Linked DNA regions of Homo sapiens: all the other regions are linked to region 3. The links are contacts of gene promoters, found by promoter capture Hi-C in blood cells and fetal thymus (Javierre and others, 2016). All regions are on one chromosome and are shown on one strand. The core of a region is centred on a gene start or on the middle of the fragment in contact, and the rest is flanking DNA. Distances in the headings are between cores, read along the strand shown. Region 1 overlaps DIRC3 (disrupted in renal carcinoma 3). Region 2 overlaps DIRC3 (disrupted in renal carcinoma 3). Region 3 holds the start of TESHL (testicular germ cell expressed HSF2 interacting lncRNA). Region 4 overlaps DIRC3 (disrupted in renal carcinoma 3). Region 5 overlaps DIRC3 (disrupted in renal carcinoma 3). Region 6 overlaps DIRC3 (disrupted in renal carcinoma 3).

The links. Contacts are between HindIII fragments. The CHiCAGO score rates a contact against its expected background, and 5 or more counts as called.
Region 1: a contact is called between a fragment that was not itself captured here and the fragment with the promoter of TESHL in region 3, in 2 of 17 cell types (endothelial precursors and megakaryocytes). The highest score is 7.5, in endothelial precursors.
Region 2: a fragment that was not itself captured here is called in contact with the fragment with the promoter of TESHL in region 3 in 1 of 17 cell types (endothelial precursors); the score reaches 5.8 in endothelial precursors.
Region 4: a contact is called between a fragment that was not itself captured here and the fragment with the promoter of TESHL in region 3, in 1 of 17 cell types (total CD4 T cells). The highest score is 5.5, in total CD4 T cells.
Region 5: a fragment that was not itself captured here is called in contact with the fragment with the promoter of TESHL in region 3 in 2 of 17 cell types (M2 macrophages and endothelial precursors); the score reaches 5.9 in M2 macrophages.
Region 6: a contact is called between a fragment that was not itself captured here and the fragment with the promoter of TESHL in region 3, in 2 of 17 cell types (naive CD8 T cells and non-activated CD4 T cells). The highest score is 5.8, in naive CD8 T cells.

The regions. Positions count from the first base shown.
Region 1 is chr2:217,489,888-217,494,050 of GRCh38, forward strand. The region is part of intron 2 of DIRC3 (disrupted in renal carcinoma 3); the gene reads right to left. Among named protein-coding and RNA genes, the nearest start is that of DIRC3-AS1, 210 kb to the left of the region's middle. The HindIII fragment of the contact is 1,406 bases long and covers 1,123-2,528 here.
Region 2 is chr2:217,582,793-217,587,189 of GRCh38, forward strand. All of the region lies in intron 2 of DIRC3 (disrupted in renal carcinoma 3), which reads right to left. Among named protein-coding and RNA genes, the nearest start is that of DIRC3, 210 kb to the right of the region's middle. The HindIII fragment of the contact is 1,281 bases long and covers 1,737-3,017 here.
Region 3 is chr2:216,868,741-216,873,341 of GRCh38, forward strand. TESHL (testicular germ cell expressed HSF2 interacting lncRNA) reads left to right here and starts at 2,032. Exons shown (of 2, transcript NR_130782.1): 1 at 2,032-2,240; 2 at 2,716-2,899. The HindIII fragment of the contact is 5,034 bases long and covers 1,165-4,601 here.
Region 4 is chr2:217,709,425-217,714,018 of GRCh38, forward strand. All of the region lies in intron 2 of DIRC3 (disrupted in renal carcinoma 3), which reads right to left. Among named protein-coding and RNA genes, the nearest start is that of DIRC3, 79 kb to the right of the region's middle. RefSeq lists an enhancer at 4,301-4,350. The HindIII fragment of the contact is 939 bases long and covers 1,017-1,955 here.
Region 5 is chr2:217,514,499-217,518,657 of GRCh38, forward strand. The region is part of intron 2 of DIRC3 (disrupted in renal carcinoma 3); the gene reads right to left. Among named protein-coding and RNA genes, the nearest start is that of DIRC3-AS1, 230 kb to the left of the region's middle. The HindIII fragment of the contact is 9,357 bases long and covers 1-4,159 here.
Region 6 is chr2:217,732,472-217,736,877 of GRCh38, forward strand. The region is part of intron 2 of DIRC3 (disrupted in renal carcinoma 3); the gene reads right to left. Among named protein-coding and RNA genes, the nearest start is that of DIRC3, 56 kb to the right of the region's middle. The HindIII fragment of the contact is 4,058 bases long and covers 541-4,406 here.

The sequences.
Region 1 (4,163 bases), core at 576-3,075, 620 kb after region 3:
AGACTGTGACTCACTTGCAATCTCATACGGGGAAAGAGTTCCAAGCCTTTCTCCTCTCCTTTCCCTAGCATGTGAAGATGGGGAGACCCATTGTTTATCTTCGTGTGATACAAATTGAACAAACAAAATGGACTGTTCCTTTAACAGGTTGACTGTAAGCTAATCATGATTTAAAAAAAAACTAACTGACTGTTTTCCTACCCCAAGATGGGTAGCAGAGGCAAACTCCATGGTCATAATAGCAATGACAGCAAACACTTTTACACCATTTACCATTTGCAGGCACTGTTCTAACTAACCACTTTACACATTTTAACACATTTAATCTTGACAACTTCATGGGTTAGTGTCTTTACTCGCCATATTTTCAGGTGAGGAAACTGAGGCACAGGGAGTTTAAGCAACTTACTAATAAATGAGGAGGTTTTCTGGCCCCAGACTCTGCTTTTAACCACTCCCCTATATGCTTTGCACATGGCAAACATGATGCTGAGTGCTTTATAAAATCATCTGACTCACTCCCATTTGACAGATGAGAAAACTAAGGCTGAGAGTTGCAAAGTAACTCGAAAAGATTACACAAATAGTAAGTAGCACAACCAGGATCTGGAGCTAATTGGACTGACTGCACATCTATCCCATCTACCCCATCTACCCCTTTCATTTCCAATGACCTGCTAGGTGTGGAAGCCCCAGCAGATGAGGAATACACAAGGCAGAGTAGTCATGAGCCACAGCTGATAGCATGGTAAAGCTGTATTCCAACCAGTAGCCCTTTAGCAGGTGCTCCCAGCAGGCTCCGGGGCTTCCTCATCTGCCTCCAGTTCAGACTAAGATCTGGTCTTTTTCCAATGACTCCATCTTCTTCTGAAGTTCCAATTCCATTGTTAAACACGGTAGTGGAACTGGCATTTAAAAAATCCATTCACTTTTTAAAAAAAATTTTTTAATCTCTACTCATTAAAGTCAACTGTTAAAGAGTAAATGCTCCAGGGAAAAGGTAACATTTTAAACTCATGTGGACAAACTTTTGGGGGAATGAACTGAGGGGTAACTGACAAGGACCCCTGGGTATGGATGCACAATAGGGACTTGAAGAGTCAAAGAGGAAATGAGGAATAAAGCTTCACTAACTCACTCACTGCCCAGTTGTCCCAGGGACAAGTCTGGGCTCCTGTCCGTCCTTTGTCTTCTGGTTTCTTCCCTCTAAAACACCACAGACTCAAAGGTGGCAGATCAGAGCAACTCTAGAGACCCTTGCAGATATGTCAGAGTGTCAAGGGCTCAAGGGCCAGTTCAATCCTTTCATTTTATAGACCAAAAAACAGAGACCTCAATTGCTACATGATTTGTCTATGGTTATACAGTTAAACGGTATGAAAACCAATAATAAAACTCAGAAATAATGGTCTTGAGAAAAATAAGCAGCCCTAAGCCACTGTAGGAATTTTCATATGTCCAGTCCTCTGATTTTCTCTCTTCCTGAAAAGCTCATTATTCTTTAGTAGCACGACAGAAATGTCCTTTACACAAAAGAGTAGAAGTGTCATGTGGTTGAGAAACAGGGTTTGGACTCATACACTCCACATTCCAGCTCCAGCTCTGACATTCATAGCCTGTGTTATCTTGGGGAAGTCACAAGTTTCAGACGCTCAACTTCCTCAACTGTCAAACAGAAAAATCATAAAACCTTTCTTATAGACTTGTTTCAATCATGAGTTAAATTATCATATTTGACAGCACCTAATACAGCTTCTGGTACATTTTTGGGGCTTAATGAATGCTTTGTCATTGCACTTTGATCAGACGAGGAATATTTGGGATGTTTGAGGAACTTAGTTTGATTTTCTATCCCAATGGACCACCAAGCCCTTGCCTTATTTTTTTTTAATCCCAAACATTTTTATAATTGAGTCATCTATTCCTGTTACCTTTTCCTTTTTCCAGCCTTTCAGTTTGGCATCATTTCCCAGCCTAACAAATTTATTGCCTATTTTATCATTCAGAATGGAGGTGATGGTAGCAATCACTTTTCACCTCTGAGTTTTACGGACACTCACCTATCACACTCCAGCTTTGGCCTCTCCCAGATGGACACCTATTCATTGGAAAGCAACATGTGGAATGAGCTGTGCGGACACTGGTATGTCTACCAAAGACCTCTGGGATTCTATTTCTCTCATGCTATTCGTCACAGTACCTGATGCCCTGGTGCTCACCTCCTTCTTGAAAGTTATGCCATCCTAACCTCCACCATTCGTCTTTTCCAATTATCCTCTCTTTTCACTAATGTCCTCTGACTTCTTCAGTTCTTGTTCTTTCCTCACCCCTTAGCCACAGCATCACTTGAGTTTAATACATATCCATCTGCATTAATTTCTGTGACTAGAACAGTGGCAATCCCACCCCCTTTTCCCCTATTTGGAGAGAGACATGGGAAGAAAACAGCTTCTCATTAAGGAACTTAATCAGGTCTTATTTAAGTAGTCGTCTTAAAGCTATGGCTGAGCCTTTGGCCTACAAAGTAAAGCTTAGACCTTAATATTAACAGCAAAGAGATATCCTCAAATACCCTCTATATGTAGAAGATTTTATGAAAATCTGAGGGAGAAGCAGGCCTCGTATAAATGTTTTGTCATTAAATTTTAAAAGAAGCATACTTTTTTATTAAAATTTTTTAAAGAAGCATACTTCATGTTTCAGTGAATAGATGGAAGTTAAAGGAAATCACAAGAAACAGAAGGGAGTAACATTCCAAGGGAGGCAGAAACATAGAGATAAAGGTAGCCATAAAAATGTAATTTTCTGAGATTTTATCTACACTACCCTAATTATAGCAAGAGAGTTGTACTATTCTTAAAAAGCAAAATATAGATTTAGGCTACTTCATCTATTTATATGACTTAAATTACAACAATTTTTAAAACTAGTACCAATATTTATACAACTCCAAAATAAATCTGTGGAGTTGATAGTATTCTTCAAGACATCCTCTTTGTCTATCATAATCTCACCCCCTTTCTCCATCTCCTGCAATGACACCTCAATTTGCCCAGTTGCCAGCATCAACTTGAAAGCATCTTCTCCCTCCTTTAGTCCCATATTCTTCATAGCTAAACTCTGCCAACACCACAGGGAGTGGGCAAGAATGACCACAGTAGATTCAGATGTAATCAGTTTGTTGCTTGGGATACACCATACTTAGCCTGTCAATCCACCTGAAAAAGGAACAATAAATTCCCGTCCTTACTTTTCCTCACCCAAATTAGCCCAAACAAATTAGATTGGTAGAACCATTTGTTCCCATCTGGTTTCCACAGGACATGTAGACTCAGAAAAGTTTTCTTTTTTTGTTGTTGTTGTTTGTTTGTTTTTGTTTTTAACTTTTATTTTAGGTTCGGGGGTATATGTACAGGTTTATTACATAGGTAAACTTATGTCATAGGGGTTTGTTGTACAGATTATTTCATCACCCCAGTATAAAACCTAGTACCCATTAGTTATTTTTCCTGATCCTCTCCCTCCTCCCACCCTCCATTCACCCTCAATCCGACAAGGTGGGAACCATTGGATGCCCATAAGCCTTCTGAACCTTGTATAATAAACTACTTGGGGCTGTCTTTTCTTTAGATCTCAGAAACCACAATGAGGAACTATTATCAGTGACTTTAGTCAGGGGAGCAAGATGGGAGTTTGATAGATCCCAATATGTGTTGTTCCTCTGTCTATGTGTTCTTCTTATCATTTAGTTCTCACTTATAAGTGAGAACATGTGGTATTTGGTTTTCTGTTGCTGCATTAATTTGCTAAGGATAATGGCTTCCAGCTCCATCCATGTCCCTGCAAAGGACATGATCTGGTTCTTTTCTATGGCTGCATAGTATTCCATGGTGTATTAATATATGTACCACAATTTCTTCATCCAGTTTATCATTAATGGGCATTTAGGTTGATTCCATGTTGCAAAGGTTCCTTAAGATTCCATCTTTCCTTTAGTTTCATAGCCTATTTTGCCCATTTCTCCCATTCCTCCTTTCTTCCATTTCTTTACCCCCAGATGTCCAAAGCAGCCTCCTGACTTATATTCTTGTTCCCCTTTCTTCCCCTCTCTTTAGCCTAATTCATTTAGATTCCAGAGAAACTGAGCCACATTTTCACCATTT
Region 2 (4,397 bases), core at 1,127-3,626, 710 kb after region 3:
CACATCATGGTTCCCCAATAAATGTGTTGAGTGAATGTCCATTTGTTTAAAGTTGGTAGGTAGACATTTTATTTTCTAAGATGGTTATTTATATAATTTTGTTCACATGAAAAAAAAATTTAAAAATCAACTAAAATACAGAGAAATTAAAGGCTATATATTTTATGATTCCACTTATACAACATTTTCAAAAAACAAAATTGTAGAGATGCATAACAGATCAGTGGTTTCCAGGAGTTATGGAACAGAAGGGAGGATGTGATAGTGAAGGGTGTGACTAGCATGAGAGAATTCCTTCGAGGTGACAGTAGTCCTGTATCTTGTCTGGGACAGTGGTTATATGAGCTATAAGAGGATAGAACATCATAGAATTATACACAAAGACATACAAGAAAAATGAGTGCATGTAAAAACTGGTAAAATTGGAATAAGTTCTGTAGTCTAATTAATTATATTATGTCAATATCAATTTCTTGGTTTTGATCACATATGATGTCACCATTAGACGAAGAAGGGTGAAGGGTTCACAGGACCTCTCTGTGCTATTATTGCAAGTTTTTATGAGCATATAATTGTTTCACATTTTAAAGTTAGGGATAAAAGCTCTATGCACAATCAATTTCAACGTGTAAACTTAATTGGGCTCTGATTAAAATAAAGAAAATGTATTCATGAGACAATTGAAGATCTGAACACTGAATATTTGACGATATGAAGAACTTAATTTTAGTTTTTATATAATAATAGTATTGAGGGCTTTCTGAGGAGTCCTTAAATGTTTTTAGTTACATATGAAATATTTATGGCTGAAATGATATGATGTCTGAGGTTGATTCAGTTAATATGGGGAGGGAGAAGAAGTGACATACAAGATACAACAGTGGCTATGAATTGGTAACTATGGAAACTAGGTATATGAAAGCTCATTGAACTATTCTTTCTTTTTTTTCTTTTTTCTTGAGATGGAATCTCACCCTGTTGCCCAGGCTGGAGTGCAATGGCATGATCTTGGCTTACTGCTACCTTCGCCTCCAGGGTTCAAACGATTCTCCTGCCTCAGCCTCCCGAGTAGCTGGGATTACAGGTGCCTGCCACCACGCCCAGCTAATTTTTGTATTTTTAGTAGAGATGGTGTTTCACCATGTTGGCCAGGCTGGTCTCAAACTCCTGACCTTGTGATCTTCCCACCTTGGCATCCCAAAATGTTGGGATTACAGGTGTGAGCCACTGCACCCTGCCTGAACTATTCTTTCTACTTCAACATATGTTTGGAAAATTTTAAAGTAAAAAATTTTAAGTAGTAAAACTTTAGTCCAAAAAAATTTAAAAATAGAAAACTCCATTGAGACTCTTATGAGCTGCCTCTCTTGTTTCTTACTAGCAGTTTCCTAACACAGGATTTACTGTGGGTATTGGTATATACCCCTTATTATCATATCACATTTGGGAAAATCTGGGCAACTTCTCCACAATTGTTCATGAAAGAAAAGTCTTTAAGCAAAATGGTTCATTTGAAATAAAAATCCTCTTGGTCACAGTGTTTTTGGAGGTGTAAAAGCCACAGCTAACTTGATTGTCACTCTTCCTCCCTTGCTGCAATGAATGTGGTGCCTGGTTTTCTGTAGCAGATCTTTCATCCATCTTTCTAGTTATTTCTATCCCCTTTCACTTTAGCCTTGACCTCTAATTCACTGTTTTGAAAGAAAAAAAATTAGGAGTGTGAGCTTGTTCCAAAAAGCTTGCTTATTTCCTCCCTTACATTTTCCCATGCCCATCTCCCCAGAGAGATTCTGGCACAGGACCCAATTCCCACATCTTATTGTTTTATAAACACTTATTAAGGACCCTATGTTGCCATTTCTCATTTATTCCTCATAACCACCCAGTGTGGTAATACTATTAGGTCTACTTTACAGATAAGGCATCTGAAATTTAGAGGTTTCCACTGAAGATTGCAAAGCTGGTACTGGATAAAGTGACATAGAAATTTCTTGTTCAGGAATAAATAAATGGACTCAGAACTCACTGTCTTCATTTGGTGGTTCTAAAATTTATTTTGAGAAACCTAAACCATCATTTAAGAAACCCATGGCTGAATGTGGGATTTTTTTACAGACCTGCCATCAGTTTCTCACCCCCATATACATCCTTCCTCTCTTGTAGAAAGTTGCAAGAATAAAGAGGGGATCTTTCTACCCGCTCTTGACACACACCACCAGCTCAACTCACCAAACCCCAGCAGATAATTTGTTTCAGAATATTCTAAACCATTCCCATGGGATTATTACAAAGAGATTTTCCAAATGGAACTAACACTGAAAGGGTTAAACCAATTTTATTTTTCAATTTTATAAATGTTTAAAAGGTAAAAGAGGGTTAGCCGTTTCCATGGGTATTACTATGTTGACAGCCAAACTGCCTACACAGAACCCCAAAATTCTCAATTAGCTATCTATGAGCACCATGATCTAGTTTCCCTCACAAGGAGGCCACCTGTTTGCTTTCCTTCTTGAGGATGGAGAAGTCTTGAAGAGTGCGCCATCCCATCTTTTTCCTTTTTCTCATTCCTGACATCACTTTACTCATTCCCCTGCAACCAAACAGTGCAAACCTCACGAACCACAGAGACTCCCTTCCCTCCATGACCATTCCAGCCCATTGGGCACCAGACCTGGAGGGAGTTGGGCTGTGAGATCGGCAAGCTGAGCTGGCTCTCCCAGGATGAGCTCCGGAGTCACAGGATCCCTGGAGACCTGCCAGAGTGTCTCTCCAGAGAACCTGAGACAGCTGCCAAGGAAGCCTCTCCTTCATCTGCAGCACTACCTTTTGGGGAGATGCTATATTTGGAGGAAATGTCAGGCAAAATCTGGGCTGGGAATTAGACTGCTCAGGGAGTCACCAACTCTCTGGGTGGGTGAGGACTTCTGCAAGGCAGCTCTTCCATGCTTCTGCCTTGGAGTAGAACTGCCCATTGTCTCTAAAATCTCATTTTTTAAGAGCTCCCGTCCTCACGATCAAGCTTGTCTAAATTTAAGAATAAATCCCAAGCTATCTCTTGGAACTGAACTGAACTACATTCTTCTCAAAGAGCCTTGTAGGAAAGCAACTTAGGCATATGAGAAAACTATGCGTAATTCTTAAGTGGGAAAATGAGAACTGGGGGAAGATGGACGGAACCCAATGCTGCAACTCAGTTTCCATAGCCAGATGGGAAGCACAGGAGGGACAGGAGCCTGGTTCTGTTGACCATACAAATAGTCACCTCACCTTCACAGACCAGACCACTCAGCCTTCTCTGCAGAGGCTACCTGCCCAGATTGTTCACAGAAACACCTAAGAGGATTGACTTTCAGCTTCGTGATCTGGCTTGGCAGTCTGAATCAATGCCTCTAAACTAAAAGTTACTGGTTATTTCTCTTTATACCAAGTAGCCATTCTTCCTCTTGTTCTCAGTGCTAGGCAATCCCTGATCACTCTCATCCCATCTCCCAGATTCATTCTCTGCCCTTCTGCCCAGCCCTGTGCTCCGGTCTTTAAGGATGGCATTTCTAGCTGGGCTATGGTTGGGTTCAGCCAGCTGAAAGGCACTGGTAGGAGAAGAGAAAGAGCCGGCTGTGCTCCCCGGCCTGGTTCTAGCAATGGTGGCACCCCTCCCTTGCTGCAGTTCTCACCAAGAAGTCCCTCTTTCCTGACTCAGCTCTCACAGGATGCCCATGGCCCTTTCCCAGAGTCCTTGCCCCCTCAGCCCTGGGAAAGGTGACAGCGTCCTGCTGCCCCTCTCTGAGTGTCTCAACACTCCTTCTTTGTTCCACTGACACCCTGCCCTCACTTTCTGAGGTGGTGCCTTCATTAGAGTCTCTCTTTGAACCCTCTAAGGTAAGTTCCTTGCCTTCTTGGAGCTTGCTATCCTGTCATACTCAGCTCCTTGTAGAGACACAAGCAGTCCAGGCAGGACCCTGCCTCAAGGTCTGGTCTTTCCACATCCTTTTCCATTTCCCTGTAACTCTCATTGCCTTGATTTCTGTCCAGTCTGTCTCTCACTTTCTTCAGTTCTCTGGCCACATGTCACCTAATCACAGATACATCTCCTGACCCCCACCCCATCCTCTTGCTCCTGTCACTCTGTCTCCCATACCCTGCTCTAGTTTTCTTCATTTTTATCATTTGACATATTATCTAGTTATTGATTTGTTTATTGTCTTTCTTCTCTGGCTAGAATGGAACCTCCTTTATAGTTTATTGCTAAACTTCAACAAGGCCAGAAGTATGATAGTACTCCATAACGTTTATTGAATGAGTAAATGTACTGTGTAGACACTCTGGACTCTTTCCTTCATGGCTTCAGGCTTTGAACTCTGTATGAAGCTTTTCCTCATGATGCCCTATAGACCACCTTA
Region 3 (4,601 bases), core at 782-3,281:
GCAGGTAAGATGCTCTAGAGACAAAGTTATGGGATTTATCAGCCATTGGGTGTTTCAGAGGAGAGAGCAGGGCAAGGAGACCGAGAGAACAGAAGAAAACTCAGGAAAGAATGGGGTTGAAAGTAAGGCATGCAAAACTGGAAGCTGCGACACTTGAGGTGGTCAGAGCACTTTTAGGGGACCTACTAAGCGCCAGGCACTGTGTGACCGCTTGAGGGAACCTCATCTCATTTCTCTGTCCTTACCTTAGGTGACTCCTGCAGAGCACCTGACAATCAGAGAAGAGTTAGAATACATTAAGCTCAGCATCACATATGTAGTTTGAATACAACTCCACCTCCTTCTCTTTCTTTCTCTTCTTTCCTGCCTTTGTTGCCCTACCCAGGATTAAAACCTTAGGTCTTATGTTAAAAGAATGACAAGAGAACTGTAGCATTCTCTGCCTCTTGGGCATCTGCAAGAGGTGGGATATTAGAGGGACACTGGGGGATGCTTGGATGATCACCTCCACCCCTCCACCCACTATGGCCTCAACATGAAGTTGGCCTTCTTGAAGTGGGTGAATCACTACAGCCCTTGTTCAGGAAGTGTGTTTGAAACCAGGCTTTTAAGGAAGAGAGGAGACGACATTTCTTGGGACCTTCCTGCCAACCTGACCCTTCTGGTTGGCACCACCCAGAGCTTCATTACTTAGGCCTGAAGCCCAGGTGTGTTGTTGGGCTCTTCCCCCTTTATGAGGCCCATGTTTCCATGATGCCAGGTGGCAGCCCTTCATCAGCCTTTGGACTACATCACTGTGGAGGTGGCTGGAGTCTCTTTTTTCATGCAAACTGCTGCCCAGTGAAACAAGATGTAGACATTTTGACTACAGCATTTCAATTTCCATATCCCCATCCCCAACCCCAACCTGGCTTTTTAGCCATGTCCTTCATTATTTCCTTCAGGCAACCTCTGTTCTAACCAAACTGGGTTATTTAAAAAGTAGAAAAAGTACAGGTCTTCATAGGAAATTCAGTGATTTGTACTATTTTTTTCATCTTCACCTATTAAACTTCCAAATGTGCTTCAAGACTCAAAACAAAGGCCCTATACTCTATGGTTACTTCTTCATTTGGTCACATTTTATATCTACCAGTAGAAGATGGCTTCTCTGGCCAGATATCAAGCTTCTTGAAGTTGAAGCTATATTTCTGTGGGGCTCTAGGGGATAGGGCAGGGGTAGTAGATTTAAAAAATGAACTGGACTAGAGCTTTAATTGTACTTTTTATCTTGATTTGTAGTAATGGTTTATGGGTGTATACCTAGGTCAAAACTTATCAAATTGTACACTTAAAATATGTGCAGGTTATTGTTTATCAATTATACTTCAATAAATTCACTTAAAAAGTGTACATTGTTCAAATCCTCCCTCAAGATCTCTTTCTAGAAGTAAGGCAATGAAACCAGGAATGTATGCCTAAATGTGTCAGCAGACAAAGGCTTTAAAAATGCTAGACTTGGAGATCAAAATATGCTACATGTACAATAAGAGCTTCTATAATTGTATATATGCCTTTCATGTATTTTCCCCTCAAGATTATCAACTGTGTGTTTGACAGTGAATATTAAATATGTTACCAGTTGAAATTTTTGGTTATAAATGTAATACGAATTGTTTCACAAACAAAACATGTAAAGCAGTATTAAAATTTGGCCAAACAAGTGTTCTGTATCTACTTTAATAAATGGTTATTCTTTAAAAAAAAAAAAAAGCTAGACTTGGGTTTGAAAGGCATAGAGAATTTTGCTTGGTTTCTGTAATTCTTGGGGGTTCCTATGGGCTGGCTGATAGGCAGCCAGCTGATTTAAGGAGTCCTACTAGGCATTTTCTTAATTTTATCCAACATTTCAGTACTGCCCCAACCACTCAACCAAGCTCTCATGTTGACTTTCAGCCATTGTGACAAGGCACCATCAATCATCATGTCCCTTTACCAGGAGGGCCCGTGTCATAAGCCACTATATAAAGGGAATGATGGGTGGACTGCTTTGGACAAATGGACCTGCGGTAGGAGAGAGGGACAACAGTAGGAGCAGGCAGATCTTGCTGTTTCAACCAAAACCTCATGCTGACCAGAGTTGAGGAACAGAAGAAGATGGTGAAGGCCTGCAGGTATAGGTGTTCAGCATGTCATCTGAAATATTCCCCACAGAGGCAAAAAGAAAGGAAATTATCTCTGAAAAGGAATGGGAGGACAAGGTATTGATGACATTTTCTGATTACAGAGGAGACTCTCAGGACTGAGGAATTGTCACCCATGCTTGGCCAATCTCCCAAACTGTCATGCCTCTGGCAAAAGCAAAGATCACCTCTCACCTTCTAAAGACTGGCCCCAGTACTTCTCTAACAATCCCTTCCCTCACCGACACCCACCCACCAATAAAAAACAACCACCCAACTCTCTCCCTGCTTCCCCACAAGTCCTGTGAAGAGCCAGGCTTTCTGTGCTCATGGCTTGTCTTCTTTGTGCTGTAGAGCCTCCCTCTAATCTTGTCCATGCAGTAAAGAGAGATCACACAAACCCTGGACCTACCTCTTTGAGGTGGTACTCTCAAACTCTTTGAAGGTCTGTATTTGATGGAATCTCTGGGAAACTGAGTTGGGAAGGTCCCTATATGAAAAACACGTGGGTTCTTGGAGTGTACATCTTTAATTTTCTTATTTGTCTCTTTAGTCAGCAGAATATGTCAATGTTTTGGTTGAAGAAGCTGCTTGAATCTGGGCTTTTCTGTGCCATGTGTTCTCCCAGGGCCAGCACAAAGAAGGGCTTTTGGTGCAGGCCCAAGACCACCATAATCATCATTGATTATTCCTCTCCACGCCAGTGTCTCTAAATAAACTTTCTCTTCTTTCTCTGACAAAGGTGTTTTTGAGTGTTACTGTTTAGCTGAAGAGTGACGTTGAGTGACCTTAGTACCCTAGCCCTTCATGTAATCAGATGGGTGTTGTAAGCAGAGGGAGAACCATGTGAGTCAGGAGGAAATATGTAGTTTACCCTTTTTTTCCTGTTTGAAAGATTTACTATGATGTTCATGGTTGGGCTTTTGTTTGGGATAAATTGAGATGCTTTCTGGATATGATAAGGGCTTATTTGGTTTGATAGACCGTCTAAACAAGGCCAGTGCAGGCTGAGCCAGGTGAACCACCAGATCACCATCAGCTCACACTTCTCATTCATTTGTTAGCAGAAATGAAGATGCTTGTTTTCCTAGAAACAAGCCCAGGTCATCCATCATGAAGTCCAGGAATTGTAAATGTGAGGAAGTGCAAAGACACAACGTACACTTACAAAGGCATATGTGCATTTGGAATTCTTTAAAGGACAACATCCTCGAGCTTCTCCTGGTAGTATACTCTAGATATAACGTAGTGTTTGGGCAATTTGGGATCAAATAATTCTTACAGCTTTATAGAATCCCTTGTGTAATTAAACTTGAACCTTGTATAACTTATGTAAAGGTACCAAATCATCTCTTACTCACAGCTTGCCTCCCCCTGAGAATCATAAATGCAATCTTTAAAAACCATTTACCAGCAAGACCAAAGCTAATCTGTAAGGTTGGGGCCTCAAAACTCAATTCTCTATTTCCTTTGGAACATGAAAGATGCAGAAACTGCCTTTTTATTGTTCATCTGACTTAGGTGGGCCCCAGGGTTTTGTCCTATTTCCTAGATGTTGATGAGCTTCTTGGGTTTCTTTGATGATTGCTTTTGCTCTTCAGTGGTCACATTTGGCCTTACTCAGTGTAGGGGTGTGGAGAGGTGGCAATTTATTGCTTAAAGATGTTATAGCAGGTGTTCCTGGGCGCAAGAGCAGAGTGTCCTGAGGTAGTGTATGTAGTAATAATACAAGTCGCTCTTGTGGTAGCAGGCTGTAGTAATATAGCTATATCATTGGATATAAGCATGTATTATGGTAGTAGGCCGTGGTAACGGGTTACAGGCACCTCTGGTAGTAACAGGCTACAGTTAATGGGTTATAAGTGTGTCTGGCAGTAGTAGGCTGTAATAATGTTGTGCATACACTGGCATAATCTCAGGGAGAAGGCAAAGGCAAAGAGGTCAATAGCCTTCCCTGTGTCATTCTGGTGCTGTCCTCCATGACACCCTCACTATATTTGCTACATTTACATAGGAAATGTTTTACTATTGAATAAATGCCCATGTGCCAGGTCCTGTTCACATGTCCATGTACTCCAAGAAATGTACATATAGTAAATATAGTCTAAGACATATAGTCCAGGAGAAAACCAGAATAAATTTAACAGTGCCAGGAGATCCATCACATGTTCAAACTTGAAACTTAGAAGAAAATTTTGAAATTGATAATTGTGGAGAACTTCAGGATGTGAAATATTTGAATCTTCTGTCTAGGGCGTTCAATATTTATTGATGAAAGTCTTGTATGAGGTAAGTAACCATGACCCAAGTTATAACTTACAGCAGCTTTTGTGAGTTATGCGAGGTGATAGGGCCACTTGAGAGAGCCCCTACAGAGTTATAGGGCCAGATAGCAGATGTTTTATTCTTTGCAGGTGAAAGCAGCCATAGTAAGTGAAT
Region 4 (4,594 bases), core at 236-2,735, 840 kb after region 3:
AGTGTTACATGTGCCTTCCTTCATAGGATAACAGACTCCAATGCTTACAGGACTTCTGAGAGATGTTAAGAAATCAATCCCCATTAGGCAAATTAAATCTAAATAAATAACACCCACTCTGCATCTTCCTGGAAAAACCCATCCCAGGCCCATATGGCTTCAGGCAAGTTGCTTAGAAATCATGAAGATCATGTAGAGACACAGGATGCAAATGCAAGACACCGATCATTTGGTCTCCTCCTTTCCATGGCAGCTTTCCACCAGGAGGCTATGGGAAGGTCATGGCCACCAGATGTTGCTGAGGACAAGAAAACTTGTTCCTGGCTGGGCTTTGCCAGAAGCCTCCCTCCACCCTGCTGTACCCATGGTGTTCTGACAACCCTGTGGTGCTCACATCCACAGTGGCCTCTCCATTGCTTCCAGTGGCCCATCTGCCTGGGCAGCAGGAATCAGAGGGGTGTGACATGGAGACACAGACCATCTAGTACTAAATGTTTGTTAAGGCTGAGTAGAGTCTGGAATGTTGGCTTGAGGGCTGCTGTCTGAACCATCAAAGCAATGAAAAACTTAAACGAATATGCCATTTGAGATGTTCTCCGAGGTGGGTGAGCTCTTACAAGCAAAAACTGGAAGAACTACTCTGGTAGAGGAAATTCCTTTGGACACTGATTCAAGTTCTGGCTGTGCCACAGTGGTGTCATCTCACATACCTCCCCACTAACCTGCTCTCCCCATACTATGTTGAATTTTCTGTCTTTAGCCAAAGCCTCTTTCAGCCTAAATGAGACCTTCTACTGGTGGAGCTTCAAAGCACTCCATCTCCCGGCATCCCCCACCTTCTCAAATTTCATTTAAAAGACCATGAAACACCATCTCTACTCCCACAAAGATAAATGCCATGCAATCCATTCTCCAGCCTAGCAGGCCTTTCTCAGGCCATCTCACATCACACACTCACCCTCCAGCTTCCTGCTGCCTAAGGTGCTTGAGTCACACCAGATCCCTTCTTCTGGGGAAGCTTGTCAGATAGCTCCTTTTATCCCACACATTTACACCAACTGCCATCATCACCATGCATTCAAACTCACACTCCAGGACAGGCATGGACCACAGATGTCCCAAAGCCACATCTCCTAATCCACAGATTCACACATCACATTACAGGAACTCAATTACTTGGTGACTAAAGTCAAGCTCAGAATCTCTTCTCCATATTCAATAGATTCACTCTTCCTCACTCAACTTCCTCATTCCAACAAATTCAGAGACTCTCTACTTTTCTAAGAACTTACAGGTCCCCCTTAGACCTCCATAACACCTAGGAGAGTTAGATGTCATTACTCCCATTTTATAGAACAATAAATCAAGGTTCAGAAAGATTGAGTGACTTGGCCAAGTTCACACATCAGGCTGGAGACTGCCTGCTGAGATTCAAACTCAGATCTGTTGAAAATCTATGCTCTGTCTAACAACTACAGGCTGTAACACAAGGGATTTACACAAGATTACACAATTGTTCAATAGGGTTAGGAAAATAGAAACAAGAGAAAGGACAGGGCCAGAGGAAGAGAGTAGCAAAGATGAGCTAAGAAGGTAAACTTATTGTCAAGGTAAAGAGTTGAAGTTTTACGTTACAGGCATTTAACCATGCCAGTTTTTTAAGCAGAAAAGCAAAACTAGGGGGAGGAAGCAATAACCTAAGTAGAAAAAATTCTCTAAAAATCATGTGTCAAGGTCCCTTCCTCCAGCAAAGGCTTCCCTTAAGCCATCCAGACAGGGTGGAACGGTTTCTCAGAAATCTAAGCCACTCCATGCCTGTGTGGTATGAAACCCCATGCAAATGCCATTAAGCCTTCACCAGAGGCTCCCTGCCATGGGCTCTCCCTGTCTCCAGCTGCCCCAGGACAGCAGGGCTGCAGCAATGGCTTGGTGAGCAGATCTGGTTTGCAGCACAAAGCTTTGCACTCCCCCTGGACTGTTAGCCCTGACACAGTACATAGCTGTGGTTTCTATGGGAAAGCCCCTGGCTACCCACACCAGGCCTTAAATGTAGGATGAATCCCACAAAATCTCCCATCCGAACCTGCATTAGGACTCAAATCCTCGGCTGATCCTGGCAGGGCTGGGCCTCCGGGCACAGATTAGCACAGAAACCCCAGGAACTCAAAGCACCTGCAGGCAAGGATCACTATGGCTGGGAAGCCAGCATCCCCAGGTCTCCCTGGCCAAGTCAGATCTCTTTTCCCAGAAGTCTTTTCATGGTGAATAGGACACTATGACCAGGAGTCAGGAAACCTGGGTTCTTGTTCTAGGCCAGTCACCAACCAGCTCTGGGGCCTTGAGTAAATCACTAGCCTTTGCCGGGTCTCTACTTTCTCATCTCAGGAATACACCACCAGCCCTTGCTACTCTGCAGAACTTCGTAGAAGAACATGTAAGAGTATGGATGTGGAAATCATAGCCAACTTCCTACTTGGTGGGATACCTGGAGAAGACTCAGAGATGGCAGATAGATAGATAGATAGATAGATAGATAGATAGATAGATAGATAGATAGATAGAAAGAAAAACAGATCATCTCCCAGATTTCTGGGAACAGTACAGATGGCAGATGTTCTTCCTCAGTTTACTCATGAGCATAGTCTTACTTTTAAGGCGGTATGCCTAATTTCTTGTGAGATAATAAAGATGATAATTCAGTCAGGGAGATGGATAGAGCCTAGAGGAGGAATTAAGGGTGTGCACTTAGCCATCACTACTCTACCTCTGTTGAGCTGTGCCATCTTGGACTAGTTACACAGTTTCTCTGGGCCTCAATGTCATCATCTGTAAAATGAGATTATTAAGAGTTGTACCCAGTTGTGGGTACATAGTACCTAGCACATGCTCAGTGCTCAATGAATGGTGGTTGATGATGTCAAAAAGGAATTCTGACTTTCAGGCTCTGTCTATGTTGCTCTGTCCTTCCACTCCTCCCCATCCCACACATCCAAAGTATATCTTGTAATTGTGACCCTGGGTGTGCCTTGAAGGGTTTGGCTCTTTCTTTTTCCTATGCACTCCTCCTGGAAAACAGCAGACCTGCTGAGGCAACCAGCACAGAAACAGAGCTCGTGCCGACTCCCAACTGCCGGGGATACAAAGGGCTGCTAGGGAGATGGAGCAGGAAGCACAGCCCTGGAAGAGTGCACTGTCCCCCCAGCATCCGACAACCGGCCTCTCAGTGTGGAGCTCTGTGGGGCACAGTTGACGACTGTCACTCACATCCACTGACACCACCGTCTATGCCATTTGTCAGCAAGCAGAATGTCCTCATGTGGTTTGACCTGACTCTCTCAAGTCCTGGGGAACAAGGTTGCACCCTCCACATGAAAACAACCAGCTCAATGCACAGAGTCTGGTCAGATTCACAGCTGGAGTTTGCATCTGTCACCCACCACCCTGCAAGGTTCTATTCTTCAATTCGACCAAATAACTTGTAACTGGGGACACAGCCCAAACATGGAACCAGGAAAGGTCAAGGTTCCAAGCTACCTTCGAGATCATCTGATCCAATAACTTCATTGTTCTGGTAGGAAAAGCAAATCCCAGCGAGGGGACTTACCAGAGATCATACAGTTGGCCAGGGAGTGGCTCAAGGATCTAGGAGTAGCAGAGGCATCTTCACCCCCCCTCACCTGGGAGAAAACAGAACCACAAAGAGGGGGAGGTCGGCTGGTGGAGGGGACTGACACCGGTTGCATTTCAGGGGCTTCGCAAGGGGTAGAATGAGCACTGGACTGAGGGTTAGAAGACCAGGGTCCCCCACGTGTCTCTGCCTCGAATCAGCTGGGCCCCCGTGAGCTGTCACTTCCCCTCTCTTTGGGTCTCAATTCTCTCTTATAAAACGGAGCATCCCATCCACCTCTAAGAATGGGTTCAAGGAGCAGATGAAAATGTGTTTTGAAAATCCTGAGGCTCTACATATGTACAACCAAATTCTGCCCATCTACACAGCCACTTTTAGCTGTTGTCCCCAAGGCCTGGAAGCAGGCAGAGGGGAGAGTTAGGTAAGCTCTCTGAGCACATCCAAGGCTGGAGGGCTTCCCTCAGCAAAGGGGGCCCAGAGCACCAGGCTAAATCCATGTCATTCAAGCAGCGCTCAGGTTGTGTCTAAGCAGCTTTGATTTTAAAAGATTAGGAGGGCCGCAGGGTGGAAAGAAAAGTTGATGAGGCAACAAAGTCCTGCCCGCAGTACCACACTGCCCTCTGCAGGGTGTCTGTGAGAAGGCACCTCGGCTGGCCAGGTCAGGTTAATTCCGACTGCCCAGGGTCACAGATCCATTCCCGTGCCTCCACGCAGTGCAAGCCCTCTCCAAGTAGAAACAGGGATTGGGGGGGTGCTGCAACCACCCTCAGTAATCTGCTCTGTCTTCAAACAGCGCAGGCCTTTCTTGGTGTCTGGCCCGAATCTTCCTCTTGTCCTGACACCAACCATCTTCCAACCTGCCCTCCGAGGAGCCTGCCTTAGCGTCTCTTGCTTGTGACTCTAAAGCCAGGATTTAGAAGGTTCTAGAAAACAGAACAGCCCTGGCTCCTGCCCACCTCATTGTAC
Region 5 (4,159 bases), core at 550-3,049, 650 kb after region 3:
AAGCCCATTTATGACCTTAGAGCTAATTTTAACTCAAGTAGGAGAGCTAGTACAACATAATCATCAAATCAAGTACCAGGCAAAGAAATGGCAGAAATAAGACTCAAATCCAGGTTTAACTTGGGTGCAACCTGGGCAGTTAGAGCACTTCTCCAAGTGTCCTTGTCTGTAAATTAGAGATACAAAGAGTAGCTACACCTTAGAGTGACTTTGAGGATGAAATGTGGTAATAGACATTGAGCTTTTAGCACCATCCCTAGCACATAAAAGATGCTCAATAAATATTCAGTGATTACTGTTGAGTGAATAAATTAATAAATATAATTCAATACATGTTAATAATTCAACAATGAATTACTAACCATTAATAATGAATAATTCAGTAAATGTTATTAAAGGAAAAGGGGAAAATATAGATATTACTGTTCCCCATGGCTCATTATCACCCTCATGGATAAAGATAGCTGTTTAGAAGAGGGAAAAAAAGTGAAAACTGCAAAAGCAATTAAACATCCCCAGCAAACACAGGTTTGGTAGAACTAGAGAGAATGACAGGAGTCTCTGAAATGGCTCGGGACTAGGAGGAAAGACTTCTGGATCATGGTCCCGACCCTGACACTAATTGATGTGTAGTTTTAGGCAAGTCACATCACTTCTCCAGTCCTCAGGGTTTCTAACTTCAGAATGACCACATTGGGCTGACTGATCTCCAAGTTCCTTTGGCTCTCTGACTTAATCTGAGGTTATGAGATACCCGCCTGCAAAGTCTAAAGACCCTTGAAACCCAATGGCTCTTGAGGAGAAGTTTCTTAACAGTATTGCAGTTTAGTCAGGAGACTGAACTAGAGAACCCAGGTGGACATTCTTTCCAGCCAAAGACTCAATACTTCTGGAAAGATTAAGGTCACATTTGTTTCAAGAGTGTCCAGTACAACAAAGACCTTCCACAGGGAGTAGTAACTATTCCTGATAGGGAACCTCCAAACTGCAATAGGCTTTACCCTTTTTTATCTTTCCTCTTTCTTCGTGCCTCAAGTCAGATCATAGCAAGAAGAAACCTTGGAAAATCCCCTCTTCTCCTCCACACCTCCCAGAGATGCCCAAAAAGCAGTTTAATGCTTTTTCGTAGACTTAGAAAACAGTTCTGTTCTTCCCTGGGCTCAGAGAAGCCTCCCATTTTGGAGCTCTTATCTTCAAAACCTTGCCAGGGACAGGCACTGGTGATTCACAATGGTACTTAATGTGATTTAGACTTATAAATCAAGAGACCGCCTAAGAGTAAATTCCAGGGAGCCTTAGGCCAGACTCAGGGTCCCTGTGTGTAAACAATCAAGTCTAACCCCCTTGGCTGGCAGGCTCTCCTGTCTCAGGGGACAGGAGGTAGGACCGCCTCTTGTACAAGTCTTAACATCGTCCATGACCTCAGTCTGCTTCTAGTGGGACTTTGGGAGACCATCCTCTCAAACTTGAGCCATTTCAACCCAATTTCTCCTCCGTGATCCAAGGAGAAATAAGGCCTGCCATCTCTGCTGGGGGATCTTTCTGGCACCAGCTAGATGGATCCCTGGCACTTTGACTCACAATTCCTCCCCTTACACAAGACAGCAGTTCCTGAGGCCTGCATATTCCAGGCATGAAATTGACAAGAGCAATTCAGCTTTCATATGGGAGCATATGAGGTCAGCTCAGCTTTTGGCCTCTGCAAGGAGGGATGTAGAAAGTCTCCCCACAGGAATATCTGGTGGCATCCTGACACCAAGCCTCCTTTTATGTTTTCAAAATTTTTTAAAGTTTTATTTTGTTTTTAATTGACATATAATAGTCATATATATTTATGGGGTACAGTATGTTTTGATACATGTATACATTGTGTAATGATAAAATCAGAGTAATTAGCATATCTGTCACCTCAAAGACTTATCAAAGTTTCAGGATACAAAGTCAACACACAAAAATCAACAGTGTTTCTAAACCCCAACAGCAAACTATCCAAAAAAAAAATTAAGAAAACAATCTTATTTGCAACAGCTACCAAAAAAAAGAGTAGGAATAAATTTAACCCAGGAAGTGAAAGACCTCTACAATGAAACTATAAAATATTGATGAAAAAAAAGGACACGGCCAGGCACGGTGGCTCACGCCTGTAATCCCAGCACTTTGGGAGGCCGAGGCGGGCGGATCATGAGGTCAGGAGATCAAGATCATCCTGGCTAACACAGTGAAAACCTGTATCTACTAAAAATACAAAAAAATTAGCCAGGCGTGATGGCAGGCACCTGCAGTCCCAGCTACTCAGGAGGCTGAGGCAGGAGAATGGCATGAACCCGGGAGGTGGAGCTTGCAGTGAGCTGAGATTGCGCCACTGCACTCCAGCCTGGGCGACAGAGCGAGGCTCCATCTCCAAAAAAAAAAAAAAAGAAAAAGAAAAAAAGGACACAAATAAATAGAAAGATATCCTGTGTTCATGCATTGGAAAAATTAATAGGGTTAAAATGTCTGTACTACTCAAAGCGAGCTACAAATTCAATTCACTCCCTATCAAAATACCAATGATTTCTTCATAGAAATAGAAAAAAAAATCCTAAGATTAGTGTGGAACCACAAAAGACCCTGGATAGCCAATGTAACCTTAAGCAAAAAGAATAAAGCTGGAGGCATCACACCACTTGACTTCAATATCTACTAAAAAACTATAGAAACCAAACCAGCATGGTACTGGCATAAAAACAGATACAAAGACCAATGGAATAGAATACAGAACCCAGAAATATATCCAGGCATTTACAGCCAACTGATTTTTGACAAAGGCACCAAGAACAAACATTGGGGAAAGAATCATCTCTTTTATTCTAGTAAAACTGAATATCTACATGTAGAAGAATGAAACGAGACCCCTATCTCTCACCACATACAAAAATCAACTCAAAATGGGTTAAAGACTTAAATGTAAGACCCAGTGCTTTTTTAAAACTACTCAGCAAACGCTGGCTGTTCTGAGGGTTCAGGTGGCTTCTTAAATCTCTGTGTTCAAGGGCTCATGACTCATTTATACTTCCTGGAAAGTGTCAGGAACTATTTCCAAATGGGCAACTGGTGAGAGTGAGATGTCAAGGGCAGTGTGGCCTCAGTCTCCTAGCCTGCCCCTCATGGGGCGCCAGATTAGGGTGTCATTGCAGAAACGTATGTTCTTGGAGTTTGGTTTCTTTTTAGCATCCAGCCTCTCTGCAGTGATTGCTGCAACCTCTGAAGGAGCAGTTCTTTCTAGCAAGGACTTTTTAGGAGTTCCGTCTCCCCCATCGAGGTGTTAACCTTAAAATCTCATTTCTTCCCAGCTCCACGCTAACTCAGCGATCAATCTCCTCTTAAATTGAAAAGTGTTGTCTCTGAACTGAAAAGGAATCGAGGTTTATGGAGCCTGGTCTGCTGAGAAGAAATGAGGATGGGATAGCTGCCTTCAATGGCTGAATTCAAAGCTGTCAGGAGATCCAAAGAGCACACAGTCTGCATGGCACTCAGGTGTTAGACAAAGGAGGAAAAGTTAAAGATGGGGGATTTGGGATCAATATAATGAATACAGTTATCAAGCACAACAAAAGGCCAGACATTTTATACACATGGCTATTTTGTTCTCCTGAAACATCTATGAAATGGGGATTAGACTATATCAGGAAACAGGCTGGAAAGGAGGAGGTGCATTGTCAGGCCCCTGCAGCAGTCAGAGCACATATGGTGGATAAGCTAAAGGAAAATTCTGGATTGGATGGGAGAGTGGGTCAGTGATTCTCAACCAGGGGTGGTTTTGTGTCCCAGGGACATATGGCAACATCTGGAGACATGTTTGATTGTTATGAATTGGGGAGTGATACTGTATCTAGTGGGTACAGCCAGGGGTGCAGCTAAACACCCTCACAATGCACAAGACAGCCCCTCACAATAAAAAGTCCAACAGGCCCAAAATGTCAACAGTACTGAGGTTGAGAAACCATGCATTAAATGATCTTAAGATATCTTCAAACTCCAGAACTAAATTAGGGGCCTTAATTTTTCCTCTGCATAGATGGGATTCCATTTAGCCATCCAGTGTTTCTCAAAGTAGAGCAGGGAGAGGACAAGGATGTCAAAACTATCTCACTGGGACCCTTTTAAAACACTTAGTCTC
Region 6 (4,406 bases), core at 1,320-3,819, 860 kb after region 3:
GGGGAATCAATTCATACCTCCAAAGGAGCAGGACTTCTTAGGGACCATCACCATAATTGCTGTCATCACCAGAACTTTGTGATGAACTTGTGAGCTATGACACAGTGTCGAGCTACAGACAGGGCTTCAGACTGAGTCTTGGCTCTCTGGTTCACAGTTAAAAGCAGGCACTGCAGAATAAACTGACTCTTAGACTGCCACTGTGTTGGTCATTTGCCTGTTTGGTCTGCATGCTAGTTCATTTCTGCCCTGTTCTGCACTGCAGAATACTATATTTCTTAGGCTTTCTTGCTTGCTGACTTCAGGATAGCTTTGACCAATGGGAGGCATGACAGAAGGCTGAAGGAAGAGGGAGGCCACGCTGTTTCTGCCACTCTCTTTCTGCTCTGGGCAGCATCTCAGGGAGTGTCAGCCTTGCTCCATGGCCCTAGCTCCCACCACACAGGCCAGCCATGGTCTTAGCTTCTGCAGGTGGCCCCATCCTGGTGGCCAGTAAAACCACCTCCCCCTTATTCCTCAGCCCTAGGGAGGAGTCTTGGAAGCTTCCATGTCATTAATTCCCATTTGGTTTCTCAGCTCTCCCGTCTCTGCATAACCAATTCCTTGTGTTCAACTCTTGCTATGTAACACACTCAGAGTGGTTTCTGTTTTCTGCCTGAACCCTGACTAATAGAGCAAATGACAGAAATTCAATCAAACTAGCCAGGAAGGAGAAAGAATTTGTTCTTCACAGAAGGAAACTGTGGGAAGGGCAGGGCGCAGCTGGGTCTCAGAGCAATTGGATCCAGAACTGTCTGTGTTGCTCATCTCTGCTCCTCTCTACAAGCCAGCTTCCTTCCCCCAGACAGGCTTCCTCCACATTCCTTGGGAAATTGTCCTGAGCAGCTCTTAGACTCGCATCTTTGGGCTCAATGCCAGAAGGGAACAACTGTTTTTCTTCTAATCCAATTTAAAAGACAAAAGGTAAGGGCTTCTATCAGTCTAGCTTGGGTCAGTGTCCACCTCCATGGCCAAGGGACCAGGGAACTGGTTGACAAAACCTACTAGAGTCACATGGTTGGGGAGTGTCCAAGAAAACGGTGCCAGAGTCACCACTTAAGTGATAAGGCTTATTAGGAGGCACAATCTCAAGGCAAAGACTTCTCACTCTCTCAAGAGAGAAAGGAAAGGGGTGAATGCAAGGAATGCATTTCCAAGCTACCCACAGCTCCACAAAGGGACACAGCCAGTTTCTGATTCACAGAGGATGTCTTCACACATCCGAGGCATAATCACTGCCCCTGAGAATCTTCCATCCCATAGAAGAAAAGAGAAAAAATTGTCTGCTGGATCCCTCGCATCTCCTGTCTTTCATAGGTCAAAGTTTTCTACATGAGGCACTATCTCCCCATGTTGCTGGGCTGTAGCCTTGCTTGGCATCTTGGGGCAGTCCCTACCAAAGGCATCAAAGAAGCAAGGAAAGCAGTGTGGCACTTCAGCAGAGACTAGAATGGGGAGGCATCTGAGGATCAGGTTGGATCAGGTTGGCCACAGCAGAAGCAGTAGAGGTGATGTTGGAGCTCAAAACTCATCCCACAGGAGGGAACCCATGGGCAGCAGCGTGACTGTGGCAGCAGACACAGAGGATCAGTCTCCATGAGCAAGCAGTGAGGTCCTAAGAGAAAAGAAAGGTCCAGCAAATCCGAGGTGATGCAGACATTAAAGCAATGGGGTGGGAGGGGCAGGCCCCAAAAGGACAGCGCTGTTCTTAGCAGGAAGGGGTCATATAGGGACAAAACAATAGGTTCAGGAATAGAAGCCTGCCAGGTTGAACAACAAAAGATTCAACCAAAACAAGGTATTTGTAGAATGTAGACATCAAGGGCAAACAAACAGGTATAGGCAATGCAGACAGAGCCTCAGAGGTGGGCTTGCCAGAGCTGTATCAGTGTTCTCCACTTTTCTCCCTCTCTCAACCCTGACCACAGCTCTCCACTTTCATCTTCCCTTCTTCTGAGCATCTGTTCTGGGCCAGAGCCCATCTCAGGCAAATAATGCATGGTCTGTGCCTGCATTCGTATACCTGATTCCAAGTACGTCTCACCTTCTCCTCAACCAAGCCATCATCTCCCACCAGTCTCCATGATCCTCTCCTAACTCAGTGGTCCCCAACTGTATTAATCCTTTTTCATGCTGCTACAAGGACATACCCAAGACTGGGTAATTTATAAAGAAAAGAGATTTAACTGACTCACAGTTCTGCAGGGCTGAGGAGGCCTCAGGAAACTTAAAATCATGGCAGAAGAGAAAGCAAACACATCTTTCTTCAGAAGGCAGCAGGAGAGAGAAGAATGAGAGCCGAGCAAAGGGGGAAGCCCCTTATAAAACCATCAGATCTCAAGACAACTTACTATCACAAAAATAGCATGGGGGAAACCTCCCCCGTGATTCAATTACCTCCTACTGGGTCCCTCTTGTGACACATGGGGATTATGGGAACTACAATTCAAGATGATATTTGGGTGGGGACACAGCCAAACCATATCACCAATCTTTGTGGCACCAGGGACCAGTTTCATGGTGGACCAGGTGTGGGGGTAGGGGGAGAAACTGTTCCATCTCACATCATCAGGCATTAGGTTCTCATAAGGAGCACAAACCTAGGTCCCTTACATGCACAGTTCACAGTAGGGTTTGTGCTCCTATGAGAATCTAATGACACCACTGATCTGACAGGATGTGGTGCTCAGGTGGTAATGTTTGCTCACCCCCTCCCCCACTCACCTCCTGCTCTGTGGCCTGGTTCCTAATAGGCCATGGACTGATACCTCTATGGCTTGGGAACTGGGGTCCCCTGTCCTAACTGGTCCCCTGCTTTTCCATCTTTGTTTCACTTCAGTGTCTTCTATACACAGCAACCAGGTGATCCTTTTAAAACCCAAATCAGATCATATTTATTCCCTTCCTCAAATCCTCCAAAGACTTCCCATCACACCTCAGACAAAATCCATGCTCATTGTTCCCCCGGCATGATCTGACCTCCAGCCTCCTGCCCGCCATTCTCCCCTTCACTGCTCCCAGTTTCAACTGCACTGGCCATCTTGCTGTTCTAGAGCCCAGGCAGCATGCTCCCACCTCAGGGCCTTTGCTCCTGCTGTTTTCCCTCCTTAAACCACTCTTCCTCCAGAGAGCAGCGTGGCTCGTGCCCTTGTTTCTTTCAGGGCTATGTCCAAAGTCAGCTCCTCAAAAAGGCCTCCCTGATCATCCAAGCTAAAACAGCACTCTGCTTCATGCTGTTCCCCTTACTCTGTTTCTCTAGTCCTTATAATACTACTTACCATTCATGACATCAAATTATGGGTGGGGGGGTGCAGGTTTATTTCTCCCTCTTCTCCCTTCCTTTTAGAATGTAAGCTGCATGCAGAAAGGGGCTTTGTTATATTCCCTACTGTAGCTAGAATAATGCCTGACACCACCGAGCTCTCAATAAATATTGGTGCAATAAATGGATTAATCTGGTGGGAGACAGATTGGCCACTACGGTATGACAAGGGCTGGCATAGATACAAGAACAAGAGTCTTGGGTTACATTCTCCAGCCAGAGGGGTCTGGGAAGTCCCAAAGGGCATGAGCAGCTGGGATTCATCCTGCTTGCAGTTTCCAAACCAGTTCAAAAACAACAGGAGATTCTGATCAGACAGAGTTGGCTGATAGGGAAGAGCCAAACTGCTTCTGGTGCGGGGCAGTTCAAGGTGAGCTCAATGAAGTCACTTAGGGCCTGTGCTTAAAATACTGTTTATTTTCTATTTTTAAAAATGTTTGTCATTGAAATGTCATGGTGGAAGGGGAGTTTGGGAATCATCTAGGCCAGCTATCCTGCTGCACGGGTCAGAAAACTGCATCTCAGAGACAGAAAATGACTTTTTCCAAGTGACAGGGTGAGTTGGTGGTCAAGTCTGCTCCCCTGTCTGGGATGCATAGACACTCTTGGCTTCTCGAGTGCCTAGAGGATTTGGTCCCAGGGATACTTATCCTTTCAGACAGCAGCCTCTGAGAACCTTTTATGCCAGTATATTGCTAAAGTGAAACCTGGCTACTAGAGAAAGCCTCTCTGTGTTTAAATTCAAATGTGTGGTTTGTCAGAAAAGTAAGGATTTTACTGCTGTTATTTAAAAAATGGTTCTGTAAACATCATGAGGGCAAGGACACCTGTCTTATTCACCACTGCATTCTAAGTACCGGCCAGGTGCTGGACACATGGTAGGTACCCAGTCATTATGGTTGAATTAACTGGTTAAGGAAACTAGAAAGTAATTCTTCCAGAAGAAAAAAGTTGAGCATGAAACTTGGTATTCTCTCCATTTTGCATCCGTATGGGAGGAAGATGCAGGGAGGCTTAGATTTTAGAATGATGATGGGAGTGTTAG